2 separate regions of the Homo sapiens genome follow, and region 1 is linked to region 2. The links are contacts of gene promoters, found by promoter capture Hi-C in human tissues and cell types (Jung and others, 2019). All regions are on one chromosome and are shown on one strand. The core of a region is centred on a gene start or on the middle of the fragment in contact, and the rest is flanking DNA. Distances in the headings are between cores, read along the strand shown. Region 1 overlaps TNFRSF10A (TNF receptor superfamily member 10a). Region 2 holds the start of NUDT18 (nudix hydrolase 18).

Region 1 (2,765 bases), core at 147-2,646, 1.1 Mb before region 2:
TGCTGGGATTACAGGCATGAGCCACTGCGCCCGGCCTAAACAACACATTTTAAAACAACCAATGGGTAAAAAAATAAATGAAAAGGGAAATTAGAAAATGTCTTGGGAGGCTGAGCTCTGTAGCTCACGCCTATAATCCCAGCACTTTGGGAGGCCAAGGTGGGCAGATTGTGGGAGGCCCCACCCCCCTCAAAAAAGAAAGAAAATATCTTGAGACAGATGACAGGCACACTAAAATCTCAGAACTCACCACTAAAGAACTTATCCATGTAACAACAACAACAACAAAAAGCAGCTGTACCCTCAAACCTATGGAAATTAGAAAAATGTTTCAAAAGAAAATATCTTGAGACAAATGAAAACAATATACCATAAGTTACAGGATATGAAAGCAGTGTTATAATGGAAAATGATAGCTGTAAATGCTCACCACATTAAAAGAAGAAATAAATGAACAATCTACCTTTTACATAATGAAGTAGAAAATGAAGAGCAAACAGCTGGGCGTGGTGGCTCACGCTTGTAATCCCAACACTTTGGGAGGCCGAGGTGGACGGATCACGAGGTCAGGAGATAGAGACCATCCTAACACAGTGAAACTCTGTCTCTAATAAAAATACAAAAAACGTAGCTGGGCATGGTGGCGGGCGCCTGTAGTCCCAGCTACTCGGGAGGCTGAGGCAGGAGAATGGCATGAACCTGGGAAGCGGAGCTTGCAGTGAGCCAAGATCGCACCACTGCACTCCAGCCTGGGCAACAGAGCGAGACTCTGTCTCAAAAAAAAAAAAAAAAAAAAAAAAAAAAAGAGGAGCAAACTAAGCCCAAACCAGCAAAAAATAGATCAGAGATAACAGAAATAGAGAATAGAAAAACTGCAGAGAAACTCAAAGAAACTGAAAGTTGACCCTTAAGAGAGATCTATAAAATGTACAAACCTTTACTTAGATGGACTAAGAAAAAAGACAGAAAACTTAAATAACCAAAACCAGAAATGAAAGAGGGGACATTTAAAACAACTTTACAGAAATCCAAAGGATTATAAAAAATACTATAAATAATTGCATGTCAACAAACTAGAGCACATTGATAAAACTGGTAAATTACTAAAAACACACTACCTACCAATATTCAATCATGAAGAAATAGAGATTTTGAACAGAACTATAGTAAGGAGATAGAATCCATAATCCAAAACTTCCCAGCAAAGAAAAGCCCAGGACCAGTTGGCTTCAATGATGACGTCTACCAAACATTTAAAGAACTAACATGAATTCTCAAATTCTTCCAAGAAACTGAGTTGGAGGGAACACTTTCTAACTCTTCGTGTGGGCCCCGCATTACCCTGATAATATAGAAGTGATGAAAGGAGGCCTCCATGTCTTGTTCCTGATCTTGGAGAAAAAACCTTTAGTCTTTCACTATTGAGTAGGATGGTAGCTGTTGGCTTTTCATATGTGGCCTCCAAATGTAAGATCTATAAGAATTATACAACTCTTGTAAGAAAACAGCAATTTTACCTTGGGGTATATATCCAAAAGAATTGAAAGAAAGGGCATAAAGAGATTTTGTACACCCGTGTTCATAGCAGCTTTATTCACAATAGCTAAAATGTGAACACAAACCAAGTGCCCATTGACAGATGAATGGATAAACGTAATACATATACACACAATGGAAAGGAATGAAATTCCAATGCATGGTACCGAATGGATGGATCGTGATGATTTTATGCTAATTGAAATATGACAGCCTCAAGAAAACCATAAAATACTGTATGTCTCCATTTATATGAAGTATGTAGAGTAGTTAAATTCATAGAAACAGACAGTAGAATGGTAGTTGCCACAGGCTGGGGGCATGGGGACAAAGAGACAAAGATGAGCACAAACAAATGGTTGAGTTTTAGAACTGGGAGAAAGATGCAAGTTCTGTCTAATTTTGGAGGCTTGGGGGAATGGAATGTGAGATTGATCTTGTAATGGGTGAGATCTGGAAGCCACTCATGCCAGTCCCTGCTTTGTCCCCACAGGTCGTACCTAGCTCAGCTGCAACCATCAAACTTCATGATCAATCAATTGGCACACAGCAATGGGAACATAGCCCTTTGGGAGAGTTGTGTCCACCAGGTACATTCTAAGACTGATCTCTAATCCTTTACACCTCTCTTTTCCTTACCCTATACTATATACAAAAATTATCTCAAAATTCATCAATAACATTCCTTTTCCATGTTCTTCAAGTTTTCTGTTTCCTACAGTTTCTGGTTCTTCTATTCAACAGATACTTATTGATCCTTTGCCAAATCCAAGGTTATGAAGCTTTATCCCCATGTTTTCTCCTAAGAGTTTTGTACTTTAACTCTTGATGCATTTTCAGTTAATTTTTGTAAATGGCATCAGATAAGCGTCCAACTGCATTCTTTTGCATGTGGCTATCCAGTTGCCATTCGTTGAAATGATGATTTTTCCCATTAAATGGCCTTGGCATCCTTGTCAAAAACCAATTGACCATAAAGGTATGGGTGTATTTTTGGACTCTCAATTCTTTTCCATTGATCTATATCTGTCCTCTTTCCAGTGCCACACAGTCTTGTAGTGAGTTTTGACATCAGGAAGTATGAATCTTTCTTTTTTGTTTTCCTTTTCCAGAATTATTTTGTTTATGCTGGGCTTTTTGAAATTCCATATTAATTTTAGGATCAGCTTGCCAATTTCTAAAATCAGCTGAGTTTCTCACAGGGATTGTGTTGCACCTGTTGCTCAGTT
Region 2 (2,700 bases), core at 49-2,548:
AGGGACCACCCCTGAGGGTTGGTGGGCTGCCTGGGGACGGTGCCCAGTGCTGGACAATCCACACAGCTCCTCTCCAATTGTTGTGGCTTCCCAACACCCCTGTAAAAGAAGAATTGCTATGATCCTGCTCTACAAATAAGAAAATTGAGGCCCACAGCTCACCCAGGAGCACAGAGCAAGCCAGTCAGCAGTGGCTGGCCATCTGGCTGCAGGTCCTGAGCTTTGTCCACACCACCAAGCCACAGTCTCCCTAGCAGGGAGGCGCACAAAACTATCAGAGGCAGAGGAAAGGGGTGGCCTCTGCCAGGTGAGGAGCCAGACGGCCTGCTTCGCAGATCCCTTCCAGCTGGCTTTGCCTTCCAGTGCTGAGGTGGGGTGAAGGAGGAAAGGCCGAGCTGGGAGAGGAGCAGGCGCTCGCCACAACCACCCCCACCCTGCTCTCCACGCGCCAGGTCCTGCACGCTGGGTGGGAGGGTGACGACAAGGATGGAGGAGCAGGGCCCCACCCCCGCCCTCCCAGGGCGCACCATCTGCAGCAGAGAGGGCCTTGAGCTGCGTGGGAAATGCGGTAGGCAGAGGGACACTGATGAGGGTGGGCCGGCTGACGGCAGCCTTCTCTCAGCCCCGGACCCCTCCCGCCATCCCCAGCCCTGCCCCCTCCCTCCTTCCAGCGCCTGTCACTCTTCCTGCCCAAACCAAGCATTTAGCACTTAGCCTCGAACCCTCAGCTGACTCCTCATCTAGGACTCCGTCCATCTCTCCAACTATTGCAGAATCTCCTTCAAGGCAGGGGTTTATGTCCCCCACCCCACGGGCCATGTGACATTTATAACTCTTTGGTGGAATGAGAAGAAAGGTATTTGGGATATGATCAACTCCGGCAATGCCATTGTGTGTTTACGGCAACAGCGGGACAGTGGTTCCAGGGGGCGGCCCCGGGCCTCCGTGACGTCACCGGATTGTCGCGTCACCGTCGCCTACCCCGGCGGCGCAACGCGCCCTGCAGGAAAGATGACGTCACCGTCGGAGCTCCTGCAGACCAGTGCGCGCTCGGGGAGTTGGCGAGCGGGTGGCGGCTGGGAGACGTCCCGAGCGCACGGGACTGACAGGCGGCAGAAGCCGGGCGGGGTCCGCTGGGCTCCGGACCCGTGCCCCCCCAGTTCCAGGGCGGCCCCGGGCGGCCCCGCCCCCTCGGTGAATGCCGCGGGCCGGCCAATCCGGGCAGGCCGCGGCGCCGCGCAGCCTATCAGCGGCCAGAGCTCGCGTGCGCTTCCGCGTTCGCGTGCGCTTCCGCGTTCTCGTGAGCTCCCGGCCCGCTGCCGCAGGGACTGGGAGCGGGCTCCGCAGCGCACTCTAGCCCGCGGCTCGGCTCAGTCGGTCTGCGAGGATCCGGCCCGCCGCCCCCCGGGGGACCCGATGGCCTCGGAGGGCCTGGCGGGGGCGCTGGCTTCCGTGCTGGCTGGCCAGGGGTCCAGCGTGCACAGCTGCGACTCGGCGCCGGCCGGGGAGCCGCCGGCGCCCGTGCGGCTGCGGAAGAACGTGTGCTACGTGGTGCTGGCCGTGTTCCTCAGCGAGCAGGTGAGCGGCCGCCCCCGGGCCCGCCGGGCCTCGGGAGCGCGCAGCCAGCCCAGGTGGGGACAGAAGACCCAACGGCCACAGCCAGCGCTGCCGCGTGCGTGGCGCTTCCCAGTTTTGCAAAGCACTCCCACTCCCACTCGCATCTGTGTCCTGCGTTCGTCCCGATATGCAGAAGAGGAAACTGAGGCCCGGGGCCTGTTTGTCTCATCCGACTAGGCCTCATTCCTTCCCTTCCCCAGAGTCTAGCGGAGTGCCCAGGGCCCCTCAGATAGCAGTGGCTCAATCCCGGCTTACCTTCAGGCCTTTGGTGCTGATGCCTGTAGTGGGCGATGTAATGACAACTAGACGGGGCCAGGGCCATAGGGCGGGGTTGTACAGAGCGGAGGTGGGGGTCGTGTTTCAAGCCAGACCCCAGTGTGAGGACCCATCACAGTTTGTAAACCACGCCGTTGGAGGCGAGAGATACACAGTGGCAGGTACAGACGCAAATCAATCCAAGACAGACAGACACATGGTGACCCTCACTCTGGGGCCTCATCTCCAGCCCCTGAAGCGGCTTCCAGGAATCTCAGCCCTTCCTGAAATGGAAGTCTTCCTAAATCCAGAGAGAGACGAATTGCAGAGAGGAGAGGGCTGCAGCCCCCAGCGACACGAGGGCAGGTCTCCTGGAGCGCTAGCTGGGTTGAGAGTGTCCACCCAGAGGGGAGTCTTGGGCGACTGTGTTTGAGATGCCCCCTGGTCCCGGGGCGAGGGAAGGCTGTGGCAGGAAGTGAGGATCCTCTCTCCTCTCAGGATGAGGTGCTACTGATCCAGGAGGCCAAGAGGGAGTGCCGGGGGTCGTGGTACCTGCCTGCGGGGAGAATGGAGCCAGGGGAGACCATCGTGGAGGCGCTGCAGCGGGAGGTGAAGGAGGAGGCGGGGCTGCACTGTGAGCCCGAGACACTGCTGTCCGTGGAGGAGCGGGGCCCCTCCTGGGTCCGCTTCGTGTTCCTCGCTCGCCCCACAGGTATGGCCCACCTGGAGGCAGTGTGAACAGGGCCAGTTGACACCTTTCCCCCAGCTCCTCGGTGAGGTGAGCCCCTCTACAGCCAGTCCTGTTATGGCTGGCACAGCCTGGCATGG

Evidence for each region. Contacts are between HindIII fragments. The study calls those that stand out against the background at their distance.
Region 1: a fragment that was not itself captured here is called in contact with the fragment with the promoter of NUDT18 in region 2 in 1 of the 25 tissues and cell types used here (spleen).

The regions. Positions count from the first base shown.
Region 1 is chr8:23,211,477-23,214,241 of GRCh38, reverse strand. TNFRSF10A (TNF receptor superfamily member 10a) reads left to right here. Exons shown (of 10, transcript NM_003844.4): 2 at 2,030-2,126. Among named protein-coding and RNA genes, the nearest start is that of TNFRSF10A, 12 kb to the left of the region's middle. The HindIII fragment of the contact is 6,641 bases long and covers 1-2,765 here.
Region 2 is chr8:22,108,017-22,110,716 of GRCh38, reverse strand. NUDT18 (nudix hydrolase 18) reads left to right here and starts at 1,298. Exons shown (of 3, transcript NM_024815.4): 1 at 1,298-1,578; 2 at 2,371-2,584. The coding sequence starts at 1,417. RefSeq lists a silencer at 945-1,724 and an enhancer at 2,184-2,700. The HindIII fragment of the contact is 26,002 bases long and covers 1-2,700 here.